Regions from separate parts of the Homo sapiens genome. Here region 1 is linked to region 2. The links are contacts of gene promoters, found by promoter capture Hi-C in human tissues and cell types (Jung and others, 2019). All regions are on one chromosome and are shown on one strand. Each heading gives the region's core, a stretch centred on a gene start or on the middle of the fragment in contact. The rest is flanking DNA. Distances are from core to core; before and after follow the strand shown. Region 1 overlaps LOC124903164. Region 2 holds the start of FAM216B (family with sequence similarity 216 member B).

What was found. Contacts are between HindIII fragments. The study calls those that stand out against the background at their distance.
Region 1: a fragment that was not itself captured here is called in contact with the fragment with the promoter of FAM216B in region 2 in 3 of the 25 tissues and cell types used here (H1 embryonic stem cells, aorta and ovary).

Annotation. Positions count from the first base shown.
Region 1 is chr13:42,737,464-42,742,845 of GRCh38, reverse strand. All of the region lies in intron 1 of LOC124903164, which reads left to right. Among named protein-coding and RNA genes, the nearest start is that of FAM216B, 41 kb to the left of the region's middle. The HindIII fragment of the contact is 4,084 bases long and covers 569-4,652 here.
Region 2 is chr13:42,779,493-42,785,087 of GRCh38, reverse strand. It overlaps FAM216B (family with sequence similarity 216 member B), which reads right to left and starts at 3,504. Exons shown (of 4, transcript NM_001318932.2): 1 at 3,424-3,504; 2 at 922-1,034. The coding sequence starts at 1,020. The HindIII fragment of the contact is 10,798 bases long and covers 1-5,595 here.

The DNA.
Region 1 (5,382 bases), core at 1,361-3,860, 41 kb after region 2:
CCACACAGTCCAATATGGTAGCCACTCTTGTTTTATATTTTATTTAATTTTAATTAATTTAAAGTAAGATAGCTCTATGTGAGTTAAAAATCTTTTAAATTCAGTTTCTCACACACATTATACACAATTCTAGGACCCAATAGCCATAAGTGATGAGTGGTTACCCATCAGGCAGCGTGGATATCGAACATTTCCATCATTGCAGAAAGCTCTGTTGGACAGAAGTTCTGTTGAACAGCCTCACTTTAGAGTCTAGAATTTCCTTAAGGGGACCCTGGATTCTCTTGGGCTCTGGGAAACACAGTTAGAAAAGCACTGGTAGAATCTAACACCTGAACGAGAAGAGAAGTCCACAGAAGCAGCGTGGTTTGCCAGCCACGTGGCAGGTTATTGAAGAACTAGAGCTACACCTCAGCTCTCCCACTCCACCCTACTGCACTTCTGCCTGACCCCAACCCCTAACCTAACTGTTCTCTGTTGCCTCTCCAGAATTGCCGTCCACGCTAAGCCTTTTGCCCACATCTCTACTGTTTAGAGACGGAACTGAGGTCTCAGACATCTCTGAGGTTTGAGAAGGGACATTAAATTTTATACATGTGCAATCAGCTTCAGGCACTTAATAGAGACATTTAAACTCACATCAGGCCCAAGCAGATGTAGAGGGAAATACTGTCAATTAGTGAGTGGCTAATTAATCTTTCTTTGCCACATATACTCTGGCAGGGTCTAGAAAGTGCTGTTTTGCTCAGAGCTGCAGGAGCACTTGCTATGGAAACAGTGCATGATTATAATATTGATTTCTCAACTTTGTGCAGAAGCCGGCAGTGGAGGGCAGATCTTGCCAGGAGTCACCCCACAGTTAGAAAGGAAAGGGATGAGAAAGTAGAAAAATAGCTTAATTAGTGAACCAGGGCATTTTGGGTTTTCTGCTTTGCATAGAATATGCATATTTTATCCTCATAGCATCTCCCAATTTAGGTATTTAAAAGTGATTTCCTAATCACATCTTGTTATTTTTCAATCTATGTATTATCATGTTTTTTTGCAATACACAGGTGTCCAGATTAATCAGGAGACCATTGTAGATGAGGCATCGCTCTAGGACCTGGTACCTGCTTGTGCTTTGTCCAGAACTGAGCTCAGAACTTGCCCAGTTCTACCACATGTCTGAAAACTTCTTCCTTCCTGTCCACATCATTCCGTAGTTGTCTCTGAGATATGTCTATTTACAAGAAGATACTCTGAAAAGGGCCAAGTCAGAAATGACATCTTGATGTATCCAGCCAGCCAGCAGTCTCAGTAGCCACTAAAAAATTAGGTCAGTAGTTAAAAATACTTTTACAAAGAAAAGCCCAGGCTTGGATAGTTTTATAAGAATTACACCAAACATTCAAGGAATAGTTAATAGTTCATTCAAATCTTATACAAATTCTTTCAGATAATAAAAAAAGAAAAAGAAAAACTCCTTAGCAAATATGTGAGATAAATATAAACACAATATGAAATTCACATAGAGATAATTCGAGACAGGAAAAATGATTTACTCATGAACATAAATGCAAAAATCCTTTAAAAATATTGGCAAACTGAATCCAAGAATATGTGAAAAATATAACACACCATGATAAATTTGCATCATCCTATAAATGCAAAATATATTTTGTATTAAAAAATCTAGTTTAGTTCATGAAATTAACAAATTAAATAATTATTTCAATACTATTAGATAAACTTTAAACATATGTGGTCTCCTAGCTCTCCAAAGACCTCATACTAAAATAATAGTTCTTCTTAATAGAAGGAGCAAGGAATTATTGTTCCCAAATGTTTTTACACACCTCCCCGCTATGAGAGAAGTGTACTTCCTGGTTGGCTGACATCCAGCCTGGGCCATGTGACTTGCTCTGCCAGGAGTAGCAGGAAAGCAGAAATGATGTCTATTAAGTCTTGAAAGAGGCTTTAAGAGCTAATACACTCTTCTCCCACATCCCCTCCTCAAGGGTCTCACTCCTAAATAAATGTTACTTTTTCAACTTCCATCCCAGAATAAAAAAGCATGTGGAGCAGAAATGGAACAGAGTAGAGGCCAGCTCAGTTTCCATGTTATAAAACCAAATAGACATCTTTGTTGCAGTAAGCCCCCATGATCTGGATGTTGTTTGCTATCACAATATAACTTACTCTGTGATGATTGCTATTTTAAAAAGAGTACCTACCAAAAATTTGTAGCGCAAACCATACTTACTAATAAAAAATTAACCTTACTCCCTTTAAAATAAAAAACAACAGTGATGCCTTTGATTCAACATTGTGCAGTAAGATAAGGAAAAATAAAATGTAGGAATTATAAAAGGAAATACTAAGCTTTGGTTATTTGCAGGTAATATGATTGTTTATATAGAAACTCCTCAAGAATATGGACATAATTTAACAAAACAGAGCACCTAAAATACCAACAAAATCATAATACATCCAGGAATAAATCTAACAAAATTTGTGCAAGACTTCTTTGAAATTATATATGTTATTAAAATACATTAAAGTAAACGTAAATAAATGCATATATTATTTATCTATTTATTTATTTATTATTATTATTTTTTTTTGAGATGAGGTCTCACTATGTTGCCCAGGTTGGTCTCGAACTCCTGGGCTCAAGTGATCTGTTCACCTTGGCCTCCCAAAATGCTGGGATTACAAGCATGAGCCACCACACCTGGCCTTATATTTATTTTGTATACATATAATATTTGTGATAGAAGGACACAATATATTAAAAGTTTGGTCATTCTCTTCAAATTGCTCTATAAATAAAATGCAATTCCTTTCAAATTCAATCCAGAGCTGTTTGCAGAACTTGATAAGCAGATTCTAAAATTTTTATGGAAAAATGAAGCACAAGAATAGCTGAAACACCCCTGTAGAGGATGAACAGGATGAGGCGAGCTGTTTTGCCAGTTTTCATTGCCCTGTGTATATAATAAAGCTTTGATTAATTAAGAGAGCATAATATGGCACAGGAACATAGGATAGACCAGTGGATCAGCACAGAGCGTGTAGAAACAAGCCCACACATAAAATGAAATCTAGTATATAACTGGAATGTCACTGCGGATCAGTAAGAATGGGTTGCTCAATAAATGATGCTATGATCATTTGTTTTCTATATGGACAACAACAACACAAAAAAGAATACACAAAAATAAATAAAAGGGAAAAAGATTTAGATATGGAAACCACAAACTTAAGACTTTGGGGAAAAATATAGAATATTTCTATGATCTTGGAGCAGGAAAAAAATGATGAAAACAAGACCCGAAAAGCACAAATATAAATGAAAAGATAAGAAAGTTAACTGAGTTAAAATTAATAACACTTCTTAATCAAAAGATTCCTAAATGCAAAGATAAGCAAAAAGGAAAAGTCTGCCTCCCCCAAAAGCAGTGGTAAAACATAGGAATAAACACTTCACAGAAGAGTCAGCCCAAATAGCTATTAAATAAATGAAAAATGTTCAACCTTTTAAATAATGAAGATGTTGCAAGATAAAACCACAATAAGTTAAAGTTTTATACTAAAATGTTGGTAAGGATGGAGATCACTGCAAAACAAACTGTATATATATATATATATATATATATATATATATATATATATATATATATATATATGCTATGTAGCTTTCTACAACCACTCTGTATAACAATTTGGTCATAGTAAAGTAAAAATATGCATATCCTATGACCAGGAAATCTCACACACACACACACACAAAATGCACATGCTTATGTGTACACACAATCCCTAAAAATACCCTTGAACAGGGGCACCCAGAGATATGTACAAGTATATTCATAGAACCATTATGTGTGCTTAGCTACTATTACAACCATTAACACGGTTGAAGCCCGCAAACAAAAAATTAATGAAAAAGCAAGATGCAGGATACACATACTATGGTTTATATAAAGATCAAAAAATAACAAAAGTATACTGCATATGGTTGAGAATAGCCAGGGCTGACTATATAATTTTTAGGCTCAGGGCAAAATGAAAATGTGGGATCCCTTTGTTCCAAAAGCAGGGGAAAAGCTTTTATCTTTCTTTCATGGTCTATCTCTGTAGGATAATGGCCATAGTATCTTGATAATTCATAGAAAAAAAAACTATATTAACTCTAAACATTTGAAAAAGCACTCAACTTACAAAATACACAAAGAAACCATTTTTAACCCATTGGATTGACAAATAGAAAAAATTGATAACACACTCTCTTACCAAGACACTCTCAAATAGTGCTAATGGAGAAATGAAAGGACACAGCCATTTTCAATAATAATTTGTCAATATCTTTCAAAATTTCACATCAAATACTCTTTGATTCTATGGGAACTTCTCCTATATGTTTGAAATTATACATGTAAAAGGATGTTAATTGCAGCATTTTATAATTCCAAAAGATTGGAAATACCCTAACTAGCCTAAAGCAAGAGAGAGGTCATATCTGGGTCTTTGGAAGGATAATGGAATGATATGTTATGCAACCATTAAAATATTGAGGTAGGTCTGTCTGTGCTAATAAATGATCACCAACATATATTGTTGAGTGAAAAAATAAAAAGAATTCTTTGCAAAAGAATATGACTAATATGGTATCATATTTGTTGGAGAGTAAAGAGTGAGGGGAGAGACAGACAGAGAATATATATTTGTTCATATATGTGTACTATGGTTTGATGTTTGTGACTCTCCAAATTCATGCTGGAAGTCCCCAGTGCAACACTATTAAGAGGTGGGTCCTTTAGGAGATGACTTATTAAAGATTAGTGTGCCTATGAAAGTGATTGAGGGAGAGAGTTCACCCTTTTTGCCCTTCTACCATATGGGGACACAGAAGGGAGACACCCTCTTGGAAGGAGAGAGCAAGCCTTTACCGGACACTATAGCTGCCGACACTTTGGTGTTGGACTTCCCAGACTCTGGAATGGTGAGAAATAAATTTCTGTGGTTTATAAATTACCCAGTCTAAGGTATTCTGTCATAGCAACCAGAGTAGACTAAGACAACATACATCTTCTGGAATGATAGAGTAGGTAACAGTAATTGCTCTTTAGGAAGGAAACTAGGACTTTAAAAAACACTTTGCGCACTTAACATTTTAATTTGTGTGCACGCACTACTTTTTAAAAAATAATATTTTAAAAAGTGGAAGCTTACATTATGAGTTTACATTATTGCCAGTTTATTATCAATGAAAAGCTACAATATTATTTCAACTACAGATAATTATTAAGAAATAAAAGGACCCCAGTGTGCCTGCTGAACAAAGAGAGAAGGACATTTTGGAGACCATAAAACATTCTACATTGGCTTTTGATGTGT
Region 2 (5,595 bases), core at 2,255-4,754:
GCCAATTTCAAGAGCAGGACTCCAAAGTACAATGGGAGTTTCCATAGAAGATAAAAATCTTAAAAGTGATGATTTTATTTTACAAAGCAGAAAATGCCTACCTCTTTTCCTTAGTAAAACCCTAAACTTCCTAAATGAGAAGTAACAGGTAACATTACTAATATTTTTACCTTGTTGTTGATCCTTCCTTGAGGGTTTGGGAGAGAACTGAAAATTTTTTTTTTATTTTTAATTTATTTATTTATTTATTTTTTGAGACGGAGTCTTGCTCAGTCACCCAGCCTGGAGTGCAGTGGCGCGATCTCGGCTCACTGCAACCTCTGCCTCCCGAGTTCACGCCATTCTCCTGCCTCAGCCTCCTGAGTAGCTAGGACTACAGACACCCGCCACGACGCCCGGCTAATTTTTTTTTTTTTTTTTTTTTTTGTATTTTTAGTAGAGACGGGGTTTCACCATGTTAGCCAGGATGGTCTCGATCTCCTGACCTCGTGATCCACCCGCCTCGGCCTCCCAAAGTGCTGGGATTACAGGAGTGAGCCACCGCGCCCGGCCGAGAACTGAAATTTTTACAGCGTATTTATGAGAATGGCTTTAACTAACTTTGACCAAAAGGAACTAACAGCTCTCCAACAGGGAGCCATAGTGTGGCCAATTAGTGAGTTTCCCATCACTGACAGTGGGTCAGCCACGAAGAGGTGACCGTCTACCAGAGCTCCTGAAATGGGACGAGTGTAGGAGGTTACCCAAGTGCTCATTCGTTCACTCATGAATGGCCTTCAACATGCAGCAAGGGCTTATTATGCGGCCAATATTCTTCTTAATGCTAGGTAAACAAAGACAGCAGAAAAAGTCCTCAAACCTTGAAGGAGAGACAGACAGGTCACTCTATCTGTGAAAAAAAAAAAAAAAAAAAAGCCATACCTTTAGTAAGGAAGTGTCATAGATGGAGGGAGGAACTCGAATAAAAGGAAGTTGTGGAACATTCCAAAGCTTTTGTTGTCTTTTCCAGTTTTGTCCCATCGTTTATCCTATACCTCCAAGAAACAACAAAGCATAGCATAAAATTTCTTTTAGCTCAACCAATTTTGGGGATGTACTTAAGTAAATAAGTAAGCAAGTAAATGAATTTTTAAAAATGTAATTTGTTCTAAGGGATAAGAACATTTGCTCACATTTCCAAGTAATTGGACATCACCAGACTACTTAATTCCACACATTTTCCTATTCTCACCCTTTATATATAAAAATAATTATTAATTATTTGTGAAGTTAAGGAATAATTCAGAGCCCTTGTCTTTCTAACTGTTTGGAACAGGTGTGTTGTAGAGCATACTATTTTTATAGTAGTAATTTTTTGATAATTTTAAATAATATTGATTTTCATATCTGATTCTAAAAGTAATATATATTGTTTTGGAAGATTTGGAAAAATTTAAAAATTGAAGAAGAAAATAAGATTACTCATACAAGTTGAGCATCCCAAATCTAAAAGCCCAAAATCTGAAAAGCTCCAAATCCAAAACTTTTTTAGTGCCCACAAGATGCTTAAAGGATATGTTCATTGGAGCATATTGGATTTTGGATTTTTGAATTTGGGAGGCTCAACTGGCAAAGATAATGTAAATTTTCCAGAATCAAAAAAAAAAAATCTGGAATTCAAAACACTTCTGGTCCCAAGCATTTTGGATAAGGCATACTCAACTTGCATCTAACTATCCATAATTATTGTTAGCATTTGGTTGATTTCCTTTTATTTGTTTATTTATTTATATGTTTTTTTGAGACAGAGTCTCACTCTATCATCCAGGCTGGAGCACAGTGGTGCGACTATAGCTCACCGCAGTCTTGAACTCCTGGGCTCAAGCCATCCTCCCACCTCAGCCTCCTGAGTAGCTGGGACTACAGGTACACACCCCACACCCAATTATTTTTTAAATTGTTAGTAGAGATAAGATCTCCCTATGTTCCCTGGGCTGGTCTCAAACTCCTGGGCTCAAGTTATCCTGCACCTCAGGCTCCCAAAGTGCTGGGATTACAGGTATGAGGCACCATGCTGAGCTTCACTTTCCTTTTATTTATTTATTTTTTTTTTCTGTGTACATTGTGTGTAATTTTAGAAAAGGGAGATCATAATTTATACATTTTGTGCACTTTCTCAGATCATTAAATATTCCTTAAAAATATGATTTTTAGTGGCAGTGTAGTATGCCTTTACGTCATTCTCCACTTCTTGCAATTTAGATGTGCAATTTTATAGCATTGTACTATAAAACTATTAAACTTGTCATGTTTCCACTTGCCTGAGAAAGATACAGAATAATAGAGTCACATTTGCTATGATTAAGTCTCCTTTCCTGGTGATTTAGGGTTTAGAGTCTGAAGTGTGTATAATAATATGAATTTAACAATCCAGCAAGAATAGACATATTGGAATAGGTTGCCAAATCACAAAGTGCAAACCCAGAGTATTTTCCCCTCTGCTTACTCCTTTGTCTTTGTTAGCAGTGTGAATTACTGAATGATAGAAAGTAAGACCACAGCAAATCAAACATAGTAACAATCTGCTAAACGTAGATTATTATTAATACCTGCACGTATATTAACTGAAGAAAATAAACTGTAATAGAGGCTGTATGGCCTTTAGAACTAGAAAGACTTGAGTTTCTTTCCTTCTGTAAGCCTCAGCCCTCTCATCCTTAAGACAGCAGTTACAATGCCTACCTCACTGGGTGTTTGATTCACTGAAATCGTGAATATAGAATGCTCTCACTTTATGCCAGTTTCTTCTCTCTCTACCCGACCTTCACGCATGTTCATGCACACAAACACATGCACACTCATAGGTTCATAAACATACACATGCTTAAGGAGTATTGTAATACATGTGGAGACTGATTTGAGTTCACACATCGAAGGTTCCATTCTTCCAGAAGAGAAATTTATTAGGAAAACATTAGTCAACATCTCTGTGTGTACTGTTTCTGCTATATAAATGTCTAAATTAAACTGTAAATATTTTAGTCAGTACTGCTTTCCTTTAATGTGCACTCCAGAAACCATACCAACCAAGATATACTCCTGTAATATTCTCTGTGATTGACACCTACGCTCTATCCTGTACTCAAATCATTTCAATATCCCTCCTCCCATTTTCCAGATCTGTAGAACAGAGAATAAATATGCTTCAAGCTGGAAAGATTTCTTCTCTCCTCAAATAGCATAAAGAAATGACTGATGCTCTTTCTTATGGCAACAATTCATGTGTGCTTTTCTGGGGCTACTGCTGAATAAATTTATCTTACCTATTCAAGTGGCCTATACCTGATAAAATTTGATTAAAATACTCATGGAATTCAGGGAGAGAAACATCTACAAAATAATATATCTGAAACAAAAAGACAGATTTGCCTAAAAAGAACTTACCCTATACTGTAGTTCCCCCACTTTTAAAAGCTGCCATTCCTATTCAGTGTAGTTTTCTTACGCGGACTCTGTTTATATGCTGGTGGTGGTGGTGGAAGTCTGTTGATAAGCTGATATCCAAGCAACATCATGTGATGAAACAAAGAGCTGGGGAAATCTGGCTGCATGCCTTTCTTCACTTCTGGGTAACATTCAGCTACACAGTTTGATATTTTTTCTTCCACATTTTGTGTCTAATCAAGTGTCATCTTCTAAATCTACCATATCTGTGTTACATGCAGATATCGGGGGTAACATGCATAGAGGCAGAGATTCTAAATATTAAAGGTCAACAAATCCATCAGGGCAATGGGCCATGACATAAATATTTCCAAAATTTGGAGTCAGTAGTCCCCTTCCTCATTGCTCAGGATGATGAAGGAAGAGTTCCTGAATATAGAGGTATGGGCATGAATTTGCCTGTGGTAACCTATGAAATTATTCCATAGTTTAAGCTAAGTTCCCTTTCATTTTGTGGGGGAATAAGATATTCTCCATATTTTATCTTAATTAGAGGCTACATATGATGATAATTAACCTGTGGCGTAAGACTAGAGCCCACACTGACCTCATCCTTTCTTCTGTGATAGCATTATTCTACTGGCTTCCTTTCTTTCTCAAGTGTCCTCCTTCTGAATGCCAGCTTATCTGCAAAGATGAAGAGTTCCTAAAGAAAAGGGAAGAAGAAATATCAAAAGAAAATACATTCAAAATTCTTAGGAGACTAAGGGGAAGAAAAAAGCAGGGAGATGAGAGTGATGAATCATATGCCTTAAAGAAGAAAGGGCTCAACAGATGCAAAAGTCTTGCATTTTTTCCCCAGTAATTTGAATGCAGACCTCCTGGGAAATAAGCACAGCACAAACAAGTGTCTTTAAATGCCAGTAAATAACATAAAATCTTTCACTGGATCTGAGAGGTTGATGATTCTTTACCAAGAGATAAAGAACAGTGGTGTGCAGAGTTGACATTGTCAATCGAGTCTTCCTCAAACGTTTTTCCAGGATATGATGAAATTCATTCTGGGTGCACTGCATCTGCTGATGTTGCACACACATGCTGAAATTCCTACCAGCTTGCCTTGGACGCTACTCAATCAGGAGAACAGTAACAGATCTGTGTTTGACAGAGGGCATTTAATGTAAGGAATCTGTTATGAAAATATAGAAATGGGTTAGAGGAGTAAAACAAGAAGGGTTAGGTTATCCAAGGACTGGCAATTGCACTAAACTGTGATTGCACATAGAGCTGGAGGACAATAGGGAAAATGATTTTACCCACAGCCCATGGACACTGTGCCATAGAGGCTGCTTCCTTTGGAGAACTGCTGCCTGAGCAGCGCCTCAGGAACCTGTGCTCACCAGGCACCCTTGCTTCTATGTTCTTGCCCAAACTGCTAATCTTGCTGTTGCTGTCACCACTGTTGCTGTCCATGTGGCTGCTGCTGCTGGCACTGCCACAGGTGCAAGCAGAAAGTATTTTTAAAAAATGGCTTCTTCCCTCCAGCCTTCATTCATGTCCTGCCCTCCATTGGATGCCAGCTAGCAAGGGATTTTGGGAAATGTATTTTGCAGTCTTCCTACTACTCTGATAAACAGAAGGGTATAGAAGAATCAACATGAGGCCGACAGATGGTGGACACTCTCTAACACAAACACAAATCTAAGAGGTACCTTTGGGACCTATGAAGTCAGGCAGGAGGATGAAGGACTTAGACATACAGTCAATGTTTACCTAACATCACTGAAAGTTGTCAATTTATAAGAAAAGAGGAAATAAGATAAAACTAGCTATGTAGATGGTATCAAAGAATGAGATCTAAATTTGTAGACATATTTTAAAATATAAGAATGAGGGAGTAATGCATATCCTAAGTTTGGGACAAAAAATGTTTTCCCAAAGACTAGTTTAACATTTCAAAAAGGATTTAAACTGATTACAAAAAAAATGGGAAAGAAACACCCATAATCTAATTACTATAGGGAATACAATGTCAACTATTAGTAGAAAAGTTGTACTATTTCACAGTTAAAATATTGGTACAGCAATGAGACTCACTGCTTAAGACATTGGCTGTTTAGAAGGTGGGTGATAAAGTGTTTTCATGGAATATCAGGGTAAATGTGACCTCAT